2 separate regions of the Homo sapiens genome follow, and region 1 is linked to region 2. The links are contacts of gene promoters, found by promoter capture Hi-C in human tissues and cell types (Jung and others, 2019). All regions are on one chromosome and are shown on one strand. Each heading gives the region's core, a stretch centred on a gene start or on the middle of the fragment in contact. The rest is flanking DNA. Distances are from core to core; before and after follow the strand shown. Region 1 has its middle 7.7 kb from the start of PLAC9. Region 2 holds the start of EIF5AL1 (eukaryotic translation initiation factor 5A like 1).

The links. The method cuts DNA at HindIII sites, captures the fragments that hold promoters and counts their contacts. A contact is called where the count stands out against the background at its distance.
Region 1: a fragment that was not itself captured here is called in contact with the fragment with the promoter of EIF5AL1 in region 2 in 2 of the 25 tissues and cell types used here (H1 embryonic stem cells and aorta).

The regions. Positions count from the first base shown.
Region 1 is chr10:80,121,671-80,128,387 of GRCh38, forward strand. It overlaps the pseudogene RPL22P18. Among named protein-coding and RNA genes, the nearest start is that of PLAC9, 7.7 kb to the right of the region's middle. The HindIII fragment of the contact is 7,775 bases long and covers 856-6,717 here.
Region 2 is chr10:79,507,085-79,514,224 of GRCh38, forward strand. It overlaps EIF5AL1 (eukaryotic translation initiation factor 5A like 1), which reads left to right and starts at 5,449. Exons shown (of 1, transcript NM_001099692.2): 1 at 5,449-7,140. The coding sequence starts at 5,566. The coding sequence ends at 6,030. It overlaps LOC729815 (a long non-coding RNA gene), which reads right to left and starts at 3,898. Exons shown (of 3, transcript NR_136624.1): 1 at 3,723-3,898; 2 at 3,445-3,506; 3 at 1-701. The HindIII fragment of the contact is 1,814 bases long and covers 4,117-5,930 here.

The DNA of each region.
Region 1 (6,717 bases), core at 3,493-5,992, 610 kb after region 2:
AAAACACATAACGTCATTCTCATTTTGAGAAAGCATTATACAAACTCAAGTTGGAGGACATTCTACAAAATAATTGGCCAGTACTCTTCAAGAGTGTCAAGTTTACGAAAAACAAAAATAACTAGCCTGGATGCTTCAAAACTGTCAAAATTATGAGAGGAGGAGAAAGACTGAGGAGCTGTCCTGAATGGAAGGATCCTACTGAGACACGGCAGCGGAATGCCACTTGCAGTCCTGGATTGCATTCTGGAGCAGAAAAAGGACGTCAGTGGCGCTACTGGCAATACTGAATAAGGCTTGTGGATTCTCACACAGTATTGCATTAATGTTTGTTTCCTGACTTTGATAATTCTGTAGCTATGTAAGATGTTAATATTTGGGGAGGGTGATGAAGGTTGTACAATAATTTGCTGTACTCTTTTTGTAAGCTCAAAATTATTTCCAAGGAAAAAGACAAAAAGAAAGAGGGAATTGGATGGGATTGTGTCATTCTTCAGCCAAAAACCCTGCTGGCACCTCTGCCTACAGCAAGAAAGTTTACTCTTTTGAGAGTGGCATTTGAGGCCCTCCCTAATCTGACCAAAACTTCCCCCAGATTTACTGCCCACTCACCTGTCACCCACCCACCTTTGTTAAACTCCATGGCATGCAGGATGCACTGCTTAGAAAACTCCTACTCATGTTCAAAGACCCCTTTGTGAGGCCTTTACTTTACACCTCCTTCAGGAAGCAGAGTTAGCTGCCAGCTCCTCCTTGGTCACCAGTCATCTCTCCTGGAAACCTTGATCCTCCTCCAGGACCACTGCAGGCCTAGCTGGCATTACTCACAACCCTTTCTGCCCTCAGGAGATTTATAACCTACAAGTACATACAGCAAAGAAAACATAGTGACAGGCCCAGGAAAGCAGGTTAGAGGCAGGTGAGCAAGAGAATTTACATTGTGTTGTGACCATAGATGTTATTATTACTCCATCTTTGTTGATGAGGCTCAGGGAGAGGAGGTGAACTGCCTGAGGCTACACCACCAATAAGGACAAAGTCACGATTTGAACTCAATTCCTCTGCCTCCTTTACTAAGAGATACTAACTCAGAAATGCTCTGAACAGTCAGCCAAGCAATGTCTTCAGACAGTTTATATTTTACTTCAACTCTCACCTCAAGGAGCCAAAATAAGATCATCTCCCTAGAGAGCATTGCAGAGAAAATTCTCAAAGAGCTTGAGGGAAATGCCAACCCACTCCTACCCGCTGAGCCCACAGGGAATTCAGGAATCATAGCTTGACAGATTCTCAGGAAATAGTCATGGATTTCACAATGAACTGAATTGACACTTAGCAATGTGAATCTGCTGCAAAAACATCTCAAAACCGAGTAAGTGGATACCAGGCACTATGGGTGGCTGAGTTCTTTTGCTGGACCCTCCATTTAGGCCAGTTTTCTCCTCTTCTAAACATGGATTTATCACTTCAAAAGACACTGGTTAGAAAACTGCTATTGCTAAGCTCTGGGATAATCACAGAACCCATCACATAGGGTAGCAGCCAAGATTAACTGAAAAATAGACTATGTAGCCATGGAATACTACTCAGCCATAAAAAGGAATAAAATAATGGCATTTGCAGCAGCGTGGATGGAGGTGGAGACCATTATTCTAAGTGAAGTAACCCAGGAATGAAAAACCAAAAATCATATGTTCTCATTTGTAAGTGGGAACTAAGCTATGAGGACGCAATGCATAAGAGTGATATAATGGACTTGGGGACTGGGGGAAGAGAGTGTGGGAGGGGGTGAGGGATAGAAGACTACACATTGAATACAGTATACACTGCTCAGGTGACAGGTGCACCAAAATCTCAGAAATTGCCACTAAATAACTTATCCATGTTGGCCAGGCACAGTGGCTCACACCTGTAATCCCAGCCACTAAATAACTTTTCTTTTTTATTTTTACTGTACCCTTTCTTTTTTCTTTTTTTTTTTTTTTGGAGACAGAGTCTCACTCTGTTGCCCAGGCTGGAGCGCAGTGGCGCGCAGTCTCTGCTCACTGCAAGCTCTGCCTCCCAGGTTCACGCCATTGTCCTGCCTCAGCCTCCCGAGTAGCTGGGACTACAGGTGCATGCCACCACGCCCAGCTAATTTTTTGTATATTTTTTAGTAGAGACGGGGTTTCACCGTGTTAGCCAGGATGGTCTCGATCTCCTGACCTCGTGATCCACCCGCCTCAGCCTCCCAAGGTGCTGGGATTACAGGTGTGAGCCACCATGCTCAGCCTACTGTACCTTTTCTATGTTCATTTAAAAGTAACTGAAAGAGTACATACAATTGGAATGTTTGTAACACAGAAAATGATAAATGCTTGAGGTGATAGATACCCCATTTACCTTGATGTAATTATTACACATTGTATGCCTGCATCAAAACATCTCATGTGCCCCATAAATATATATCTACTATGTACCCATAAAAATTAAAAAAATTTTAATCAGAAGAAAATAAATCTATAACAAAATTTTTACAAATTAAAAAAACCAGACTATGTAGTACTTCACACTGGGTTAGACGATGAATTCGAAATCATGAATGTTGGCTGTTAGGAATATAACTATTTATTATAACTGTTAATATTATGATTATTATTATTATTGAGACAGAGTCTGGCTCTGCACCCAGACTGGAGTGCAGTGGCACGATCTCGGCTCACTGCAACCTCTGCCTCCCATGTTCAAGCGATTCTCCTGCCTCAGTCTTCCTGTAGCTGGGATTACAGGTGCACACCACCACATCCAGCTAATTTTTTAAGAATATTTTTGGTAGAGATGGGGTTTCACCATGTTGACCAGGCTGGTCTCGAACTCCTGACCTAGAGTGATCCACCCACCTCGGCCTTCCAAAGTGCGAGGATTACAAGATAAGCCACTGTGCCTGGCCAATATCATTATTATTATTATTATTATTATTATTATTATTATTTTGAGACAGTCTTGCTCTGTCATACAGGCTGGAATGCAGTGATGCAATCTCAGCTCACTGCAACCTCTGCTTCCCGGGTTTAAGCAATTCTCGTGCCTCAGCCTCCCAAGTAGCTGGGATTACAGGCATGTGCCACCACCCCTGGCTAATTTTTTTTTTTTTTTTTTCTTTCTTTCTTTCTTTTTTTTTTTCTTTTTTTTTTAGTAGAGACAGGGTTTCACCATGTTGGCCAGGCTGGTCTCAAACTCCTGATTTCAGGTGATCCGCCCACCTCACCTCCTGAAGTGCTGGGATTATAGGCGTGAGCCACCACACCCGGCCATAACTGTTAATATTAAACCTCTACCCTCATTCTACACTTTGCTTCTCCCTGTACCAAGCGGATCTTCCTATCTTCCTACATCTTCTCCTACCTGGGAGGATTCAGGGCCACATGTAAGAAAGGGGGCAAAATAAAGGGGTTATGCCTATTGCAGCACAATTCATAATTCCCAAGGTACAGAACCACCTTAAGTGCCCATTGATCAATGAATGGATAAAGAAAATGTGGTATATATGCACTATGGACTACTACTCAGTCATAAAAAGGAACGAAATAATGTCTTTTTTGTTTTTTTTTTTTGAGATGAAGTCTCGCTCTGTCACCCAGGCTGGAGTGCAGTGGCGCGATCTCGGCTCACTGCAAACTCTGCCTCCCGGGTTCACGCCATTCTCCTGCCTCAGCCTCCCGAGTAGCTGGGACTACAGATGCCGGCAACCATGCCTGGCTAATTTTTTTTTTTTTTTTTTTTTTTTTTTTAGTAGAGACAGGGTTTCACCGTGTTAGCCAGGACGGTCTCGATCTCCTGACCTCATGATCCGCCTGCTTCGGCCTCCCAAAGTGCTGGGAATACAGGCGTGAGCCACTGCACCCAGCAGAAATAATGTCTTTTGAAGCAACTTGGATGGAGTTGGAGACCATTATTTTAAGTGACGTAACTCAGGAATGGAAAACCAAATACCATATGTTCTCACTTATAAGTGAGAGATAAGCTATGAGGACACAGAGACATACAGAGTGATATAATGGACTCTGGAAACTCAGAACGGGGAGGATGGGTGGGGAGTGTGGAATAAAATACGACATGTTGGGTACGATGAACACTACTTGGGTGGTGCACGCACTAAAATCTCAGAATTCACCATTATACAATTCATTCATGCAACCAAATATAACTTGTACCCCCAAAGCTACTGAAATTTTATAAAATTAATAACAATTTAAAAAGAAACAGTTCTCTTTCTGCCTCCACTGCCACCATGGCTCCCGGGAAAAAGCTTGTGGTGAAGAGGGGCAAAAAAAAGAAGCAGGTTCTGAAGTTCAGTCTTGATTGCACCCACCCCGTAGAATATGGAATCATAGACGCTGCCAATTTTGAGCAGTTTCTGCAAGAGAGGATCAAAGTGAACTGAAAAGCTGGGAAACTTGGCGGAGGGGTGGTGACCATCGAAAGGAGCAAGAGAAAGATCGCCATGATATCTGAGGTGACTTTTTCCAAAAGGTATTTGAAATATTACACCAAAAAATATTCAAAGAAGAATAATCTATGTGATTGGTTTTCGTAGCTGCTAACAGCAAAGAGAGTTATGGATTACATTATTTCTAAACTAATCAGGACGAGGAAGATGAGGATTAAATTTCATTTATCTGGAATATTTTGTATGAGTTCTTGAATAAAACTTGGGAACAAAAAAAAAAAAAAGAAAAAGAAACAAAAAACTTCTTATTTTTTTCTTTTTTTGAGATGGGTCTCACTCTGTCACCCAGGCTGGCATATGCAGTAATGTAATCATAGTTTACTGCCGCCTCGACTTCCCAAGCTCCTGCCATCCTTCCACATCAGCCCCCTGAATAGCTGGGACTACAAGTGTGTGCCACCACACCCGGCTAATTTTTAAATTTTTTTTGTAGAGACAGGGTATGGCTATGTTGTCCAGGCTGGTCTTGAACTCCTGAACTCAAGCCACCCTCCTGCCTCAGCCTCCTAAAGTGCTAGGATTACAGGAGTGAGCCACTACTTCCAACTTCAAAAAAACAAATCTCAACCCATCAAGTCGCCCCCTCCTTTTCCTTCCCCCGAGAGACATCCACATTCACACTTCACTGGCTCACTTTCTCTGGCTATAACTTCTGTGCCTTGGGTTAGTAGCCCCTCTTCATCTGTGCAGAATGGGCTAGGTTTGCCCAGTGCTCACTGAGAGCTCTCCCGGCGTGGGTCTTTCTGGTACCTCTGGAAATCTTCTCTTGTGCCAAAGGAAGAAGACAAGGAGGCTTTGTACAGCTCAGGCCCTCCCAGCCACTGACGCTCTTTTAATTGGGCTGTCCTCTCACCCCATCTCTCTCCCCAAAGAGATGACCAGCCCCTATTTCCTGTTTCCTTTGGCCCTTTGCCTTTGGGTATGGATTGGGAGAGCAAGCCCCTGCCAGATTTCCCACCACTTGTGCCCCGGCCCAGCCAGGCTGGGAGGACCTGAGCACATCCTGTAGCATTGCCTGTGGAGGCAGTACAGGTGCCTGGGAGGCAAATCCCTAACTAGTCTCTGTGTGCCCTGGGCCCACCTCCTAACTTCTCCAAGCCTTACATTCTGTATGCTCCCATGACCCTGGCAGGTAGCCTCACAGTCCACGCAGATTGTGACGGTATCTGCCAGGGTCATGGGAGCATTAAGTGAAAGAGAAACGTCTGCACATTAGGGCACTTCATTCATGCAGGTGGTTATGAGCGTTCTCCCCTAACTGCACAGGGCTTGCCACTCTGCGCCCCCCATATCCCATTCATCCCTTTCTCACCTCCACTCTTCAGATTCTCTATTTAGTGCCTTTCCTGGGACTTCAGAGTCAAGAGGCCTGATCATGCAGAGGACCATGAATTTTGGAATCGGATCCACCTAGCTTCCAAACTGGGATCTGCCACCCTCTACTCTTGAATCAGATATACTTAATAGATCTTATTTTTTTAAATGGGGATAAGGATATCTACTTGATAGGTTTACTGATGCAAGGATTAAATAGGGTAATGCATATACAGCCTTAGCACAATACCAGGTTCAGAGAAGTTTAGCAAATAATAGAATAATAATAAATAATAAGAGGTATGACTAGATCCAGCTGGCTACCCACCTTGCTTTGAGGCCTGGTATATGGTTGGCATATTTCTCTAGTTCCTGCCACTGATGCCGGTCTCCCCTATCTTTAATTTCACTGGTCACTTTCAAGAATATTGGAAGGAGGAGGTTTGTCAACTGGGTCCACTGGCTCCATACTATCATTTTGCCCAGGAGTTTCCCTTTACATGTTTGGGCCAGTTTCTGTTGGTATACAGAAATAAATTGATTTCCAAACACTTATCTTAATTTTTTTTTTTTTTTTGAGACAAATTCTCACTCTGTCGCCCAGGCTGGAGTGCAGTGGCACGATCTCGGCTCACTGAAACCTCCGCCCCCTGGGTTCAAGCAATTCTCCTGCCTGAGCCTCCCTAGTAGCTGGGATTATAGGCGTGTGCTACCACGCCTGGCTAATTTTTGTATTTTTAGTGGAGACAGGGTTTCTCCATGTTGGCCAGGCTGGTCTCGAACTCCTGACCTCAAGTGATCCACCTGCCTCTGCCTCCCAAAGTGCTGGGATTAACAGGCATGAGCCACTGCACCCAGCCAAACACTTGTTGATAGTGGCATCTTTTTTTATTTTTTAAATTTTTAATTTAATT
Region 2 (7,140 bases), core at 4,199-6,698:
TGGATGAGGTCCCAGAGGACTGACAGCTGCAGGTGGATGAGGTCCCGGAGGACTGACAGCTGCAGGAGGTGGATGAGGTCCCAGAGGACTGACAGCTGCAGGTGGATGAGGTCCCGGAGGACTGACAGCTGTAGGAGGTGGATGAGGTCCCGGAGGACTGACAGCTGCAGGTAGATGAGGTCCGGGAGGACTGCCAGTTGCAGGAGGTGGATGAGGTCCCGGAGGACTGACAGCTGCAGGTAGATGAGGTCCGGGAGGACTGATAGCTACAGGAGGTGGATGAGGTCCTGGAGGTCTGACAGCTGCAGGTGGATGATGTCCGGGAGGACTGACAGCTGCAGGAGGTGGATGAGGTCCTGGAGGACTGACAGCTGCAGGAGGTGGATGAGGTCCTGGAGGACTGACAGCGGCAGGTAGATGAGGTCCGGGAGAACTGCCAGCTGCAGGAGGTGGATGAGGTCCCAGAGGACTGACAGCTGCAGGTGGATGAGGTCTCAGAGGACTGACAGCTGCAGGAGGTGGATGAGGTCCCGGAGGACTGACAGCTGCAGGTAGATGAGATCCGGGAGGACTGCCAGTTGCAGGAGGTGGATGAGGTCCCAGAGGACTGACAGCTGCAGGTTGATGAGGTCTGAGAGGACTGACAGCTGCAGGTGGATGAGGTCTGAGAGGACTGACAGCTGCAGGAGCTGGATGAGGCCCTGGAGAACAATCGAGTGGAGGAGGTGGTTAAGTTTTCAGGGGACTCTCCAGTGCAAGAGGTGCTTGAGTTCCCAGAGGACACTCCAGTGGAGGAGTTTGTTGAGGTCCCAGAAAACCTTCAGATGGAGGGAGTGTTTGAGTTCCCAGACAACACCCGGTAGAGGAGGCGGCTGGCAGCCCATCAATGGTCCTGAAGGGCCAGCCATGAGATCGGGCAAGTAGGGCCATTCTGAGAAAGGATGAGCTTCCCTGCAGCCACATTGACCTACAAGTCAGGAGGAGAAAATGTTTTGAAATATATGAATATGATGGACAAAAACACCAAAACCAACACAAGCTGCACCTTATGCCTCGGGTGATAGTCCCTTGCACCTTTCCCTCCTCCAGGTTTCAAAATGGCAGCATGAATGCCATAAAGTCTCCCTTCAACTGAGTCCTGCCAACAGCAGGGGAGTGAAGAAAAGTCGTGGGGACAAACTGCTATCCCCACACGCCACTCTGTCTGCAAATGTACGCAGGCTGGGGGCCTGTCCCTGGGAAGACAGAGTCATAACCCAGTAATAAAGAAGCATGTTTCTGACACAGGGGTGTCTATGTCTATCCTAATTCCTCCCTCACCATCATCACCGGAGCATGTTCCTTGCATCAGATAAACAGAGAGAAACAGAAGCATGAAAAGCCCATTGTCCACACATGAGTCACAGCTACTCTTAAGAGAATGGCCTCCAGGCTTTTCATGTGCTGTCTCTGATTCTCAGAAATCTACAAGGTCAGTGTGACCACCCTGCTCCAAATCTAAGAAAATAGAGGCTCCAGAGGAAGGAGAAATTTCACCTAGCATCACACAGCTTGCAAGAAGCAGAGTGGAAGTCGATTCCAGCTCTGCCTGCAAGACCCTCTCGTCCCCCTTCTGCTTCCCTTCTTGACAAACGGTCTTCTCTACTTTGGAAGCGCCATCCATGGGCACAAAGAGCTCTGGGGAGATGGGGATTCCTGAAGAGCTGCAGGGGAACTGGGAGAGGGTTTTCTGACGGAATAATCTTACATAGAGATATCAGTTTGGCATGGTTATCACATTTCTTTAACTTCTAGGTAATACCAAATTTTAAGTGCACTATGACATAAAGAATAATTTTGTCCATGGAAAAATGAGGTGGGAATTCTCAACAACAGAAGTTTTAAAAATATGTTTGATTTCAAGTGTACAAGTCCCATCGTGTGTGATCAGAGGATTCAGCAGCTGTCGAAGACACAGAGGCCACACGAGAACCAGCTTAATTGAGCATCATTTAAGGCCTTCATTGAGAATTGTCCCTGTAGGTAATGAGTGACGTTCACTCTCCACTACCTCACAGCCAGGGCACATTTTCTATTAAAATATGGAACCTCTGACACTTAGAATATTAGATCAAGGGCAACACTGGGTGAGGGTGGGGGCGTTTTTGCTCAACACAGTTAACAACAGAGATGGGACTGTGATGAATTATGGAATTGACTTTGCCAAAGAACATTCAAAATTGCACAAAGCACATATTAATGTTGGATCAATGAGTTTTCACTTCTGGGATTACGGCGGATATTCTGAAGGTTAATCACTTACCTTATAGCAGAAAAGAAAATCACAGCAAAAAAAAAAAGGAAACCCCACATATTTTGGAAAGGGGATCCCACACCATCTTGAGTAAAAGGGATCAGTCAGGGTCTACTGGGCCATAAGACCTACCTCAGTGGAGTTCAATGGCATCCTCTCATGTTATTTCTGGAAACAGAACAGTGACAGCCCTGCAGCCCTTGGCCCTTAAGCATTTATGGCTTCTGGAGGTGCCACCAAAGATGACCAGCTGGAAATGGAGAAGCCTGAAAGCTCATGGGGAAGATTTTGCTTTCAAAAAAGTCCAGTTAGAAAAGGCACCACAGAACCCAGAGAGCAGAGGACAGGCCAGGAGAGGGCGCTGTAGGAAAAGACAAAACTGTCCTGAACTAGGCAGAGGGAAAATGACTCCAGCATTTACCTTTGTCTTCTCTGTTTTCTGGCTATGTCTTCTGATTCTTTAAGAAAAGAAGAAATATTGATCCATGAAGACATAGCCAGAAAATTTCTGCTCTCATCAGCACTTATGGCTCCCATTCTAAAATGTTACTAGTGTTACTTTTCTCAAATAATAATAAAAAAAATAAAGCCTTCCCACTGACTCAAGGTTGGAAGGGGAGCTGACCCATTTGCCTTCTAGGCTCATCCCCTCAGTTAAAAGTAACCAAGACATCAGGGTGGAATGATGTCCACAGTCAGTGGAGGGGCCTGTGCTCCGCTATTCACAGGGGACCAGCCAAGAGTCATTCAGCTGTGGCACGTGAGAAAAACGGTCCTGCCACCCAGCGGGATAACTGTTCTCTTTAGTAAGTGCTTGGAACTGTTTCCAGGAAACATAACAATAACCCAACCCAAGCCCTCACCCCAGAAAGGAGAAGCAGGGGTGTGGATTGTGGAGCAGAAGTTAAGCGGGTGCCTTCCCAGAGAGCTCCTACCTCTCCAGAAAGGGTTCTCTAGCCCTAGCTGTCCCTGGGCTGCCTCCTGACTCATGTGTCTCTCCAGCACTCCCTGCTTTTCCATCATTTCCTGTCTTGAAGACAGTGAAAGAGTTGACTTGTAGAAGAATTAAAACACTGTTTTCTTTACTAGACAGTCAAAGCTTCATCTTAAAACAAAAACATCCTTAAAATTTGTCCATCACAATCACCTACCTGTGCTGCTTGCAGGCAGCCTTCCTCTCTGCCATCTCCCTCTGCAAGGCTTGAGCACAGAGCTGTGGGGAGAAAAATACATCCATGTCCCGACTTGGCCGAAAAGCAAGGGAAAAATGAACAAACTTACCCAGTTGTTGAGGCCTTTCTTGCAGCAGAAGGGGCGATCTGAAAAAGCCAACACATGAGAAAATGTATGTTGACAGATTCTAGGGGCAGTGGCATCATCTTGATGAGCGTTTAAGGATCCTGCAACTGCAGGAAGGAAGGCTCCTTACCTCTCATCTGTAGGAGTCCTCTACCCACTGCTGCAGCTCTTGTCTGTCTTGAATCGTTTTTCTATGGTTTAGAATCACTTTCATCAGACACAGCATCATCTTTAGTATGATTTTAAATAATCTGCCATGTTCCTGTTGTCCTCACAATTGTACCCTTACACAATCTATCTATACATAGAAAATGTATTTCACATGGCTATAAAAGTACAGTATGATCAAAACTGTTGCTGTAATGCTTCCTCCTCTTTTACTTAATGCCTGCTGGGTTCTGAGTTGACAATTTCCTTACCCATTTTCAGTATGTCCCTAATTCATGCTTCATTGGGCATCTTTTATCATAAAGCTCTATTCTCCTGGAATTAATATCCTTGCCATATTTCACAGGGCAGAAACAGCTGAGCTTATAAATAGGCACAGTCCTTTTGAAGGATGGGTTGATCCTACAACAACACACTTTCCTAAGGATGATGACAACTCGCATCACCCCTAGAACGGCTGGTATGAACCGAGTTTCCACACAGTCTGGCTGGCATTGCAGTCAGGAGATGTTTGGCTACTTCACATGTTTTGAACACTAGTAAATCTTAAGGTACTTGTGTTCTCTGGTGTGAATTGTCTCTCTCTCTAGGTATCGCTTCTGACCATTTGTTTCCATTTCTGTGTTAACTGGGTCTAAACATTGTACAAAGATTTAAAACAAAACACTCCACCAGCGCTTCCCCAAGAGGCTGGTGTCGGTTTCCGAACCCACTTGCAGATGGGTATTTTTTCTAGAGCCAATTTCATGGTTTCTTCCACCTCTGACAGCCGCCTCCCCTTTTCTTCTCGTTCACGTTCTTTCATTCTCAGCTTCCTGAGTCGAGAAGGGAGAGAAATGCATGCACGTGATCCACTGGCCTGTGTGGGATTCCTTGCGGCATCTGAAGGCCGTGATTCAAAGGTCCCCTGACAACCTTCCCATAAATGAACCAACTGATCCTCACAACTGGAGGGAGAATTAACACCTTCCATGGGACAAAGAAAAAGCACATTCTGGCCTGCTGGCAAGTCACCTGTCGTTTCCAGCTCATCTTCATCGCTCTGTATTCCTACTCTTTAGTAAATATGAACTATTAAAAGCTTCTATGAGATGCGCTATGTGTGCTTCTGGGGTCAGTCTTTTGCCTGACATAGCGAAAGCTCATTTTAGTTCAGTGTAGAAAACCAGACCTCACCAGCTCATCACAACTAAACCCATAAGGACGGAGCAGAGGATCACTCCTCGTCTGACTCCTCCCACAGGGAAACCTGATTCTCCATCAGAGGCTGATGCCAGAACCCAGACAATCAGCCTCAGAGAGATCCTTCCAGGACATGCTGTCATTAGCCCTGCGGTTCACTACTGCACATGTCCATGATTCAGGACTGGAACTCTTCTCATCGACTTTAAAGATCCTGGTTGAGAGAAAAGGCCAATCTGAGTGCTGGGTGCATCTACTGAATTGGAAATGATCCAATGGCTCTTTAGTCAGGGTGTTATGTCCTGAAAATAGGTGACAACTGCAAACCATCCTCTGGTGTCCAGAGACTTTAACAAGGTTTGTTTCACACAGACTGAGGGCAGAAAAAAGGAAATGGCCTAAAAAGGTGGGTTTGCTGTGTTGCCTCACACTACTTGATTCATGGTTCTGATTCTAAAAATCTCACTTGATACTTGATTTCATATGAAAGACGTGTAAAATGCCTGGGTAGAGGCGGCGGCGGCGGCGGCGGCGGCGGGCTCGGAGGCAGCGGTTGGGCTCGCGGCGAGCGGACGGGGTCGAGTCAGTGCCGTTTGCGCCAGTTGGAATCGAAGCCTCTTAAAATGGCAGATGATTTGGACTTCGAGACAGGAGATGCAGGGGCCTCAGCCACCTTCCCAATGCAGTGCTCAGCATTACGTAAGAATGGCTTTGTGGTGCTCAAAGGCTGGCCATGTAAGATCGTGGAGATGTCTGCTTCGAAGACTGGCAAGCACGGCCACGCCAAGGTCCATCTGGTTGGTATTGACATCTTTACTGGGAAGAAATATGAAGATATCTGCCCGTCAACTCATAATATGGATGTCCCCAACATCAAAAGGAATGACTTCCAGCTGATTGGCATCCAGGATGGGTACCTATCACTGCTCCAGGACAGCGGGGAGGTACCAGAGGACCTTCGTCTCCCTGAGGGAGACCTTGGCAAGGAGATTGAGCAGAAGTACGACTGTGGAGAAGAGATCCTGATCACGGTGCTGTCTGCCATGACAGAGGAGGCAGCTGTTGCAATCAAGGCCATGGCAAAATAACTGGCTCCCAAGGTGGCAGTGGTGGCAGCAGTGATCCTCCGAACCTGCAGAGGCCCCCTCCCCCAGCCTGGCCTGGCTCTGGCCTGGTCCTAGGTTGGACTCCTCCTACACAATTTATTTGACGTTTTATTTTGGTTTTCCCCACCCCCTCAATCTGTCAGGGAGCCCCTGCCCTTCACCTAGCTCCCTTGGCCAGGAGCGAGCGAAGCCATGGCCTTGGTGAAGCTGCCCTCCTCTTCTCCCCTCACACTACAGCCCTGGTGGGGGAGAAGGGGGTGGGTGCTGCTTGTGGTTTAGTCTTTTTTTTTTTTTTAAATTCAATCTGGAATCAGAAAGCGGTGGATTCTGGCAAATGGTCCTTGTGCCCTCCCCACTCATCCTTGGTCTGGTCCCCTGTTGCCCATAGCCCTTTACCCTGAGCACCACCCAACAGACTGGGGACCAGCCCCCTCGCCTGCCTGTGTCTCTCCCCAAACCCCTTTAGATGGGGAGGGAAGAAGAGGAGAGGGGAGGGGACCTGCCCCCTCCTCAGGCATCTGGGAAGGGCCTGCCCCCATGGGCTTTACCCTTCCCTGCGGGCTCTCTCCCCGACACATTTGTTAAAATCAAACCTGAATAAAACTACAAGTTTAATATGAAAAAAAAAAAAAAAGAAAGAAAGACGTGTAAAATGCCAAGAACTCTAGGAAACAGGGACAAAAACACTTCAAAGAGAAAGTTCATGCACTTGTTTCTGACCACCCAGGGCACCCTTCAGCACACGCTGTCTGGAGTGGCCTGAAGCAAGGAGTGTCTTGTGAGGTGCAGAGGATGCAATGGGAGCAGGGTCCTGTCCCCACCCTAAAGGAGTTCACAGTTTAACGCAAATGAGAAGCCAGTGAGGACATCACTACTCCTGCTGTGAACTTGGGAACTAGAAACACAAAACCTGAGTCTGGAGGGAAGCTAAGGAAGCATTCTGCTCTGGAGTAGACATGAGTGCGTGTGAAGCTTCTGATCTCCCATGAGAGCAATGGGGACATGGGGCAGAATCTAAAACCCATGACTGAAAGCACCAAATTGCTAAAATGGCAATAAAGAGACATGAGGCCAAGATGGAGAAGAAGGAAC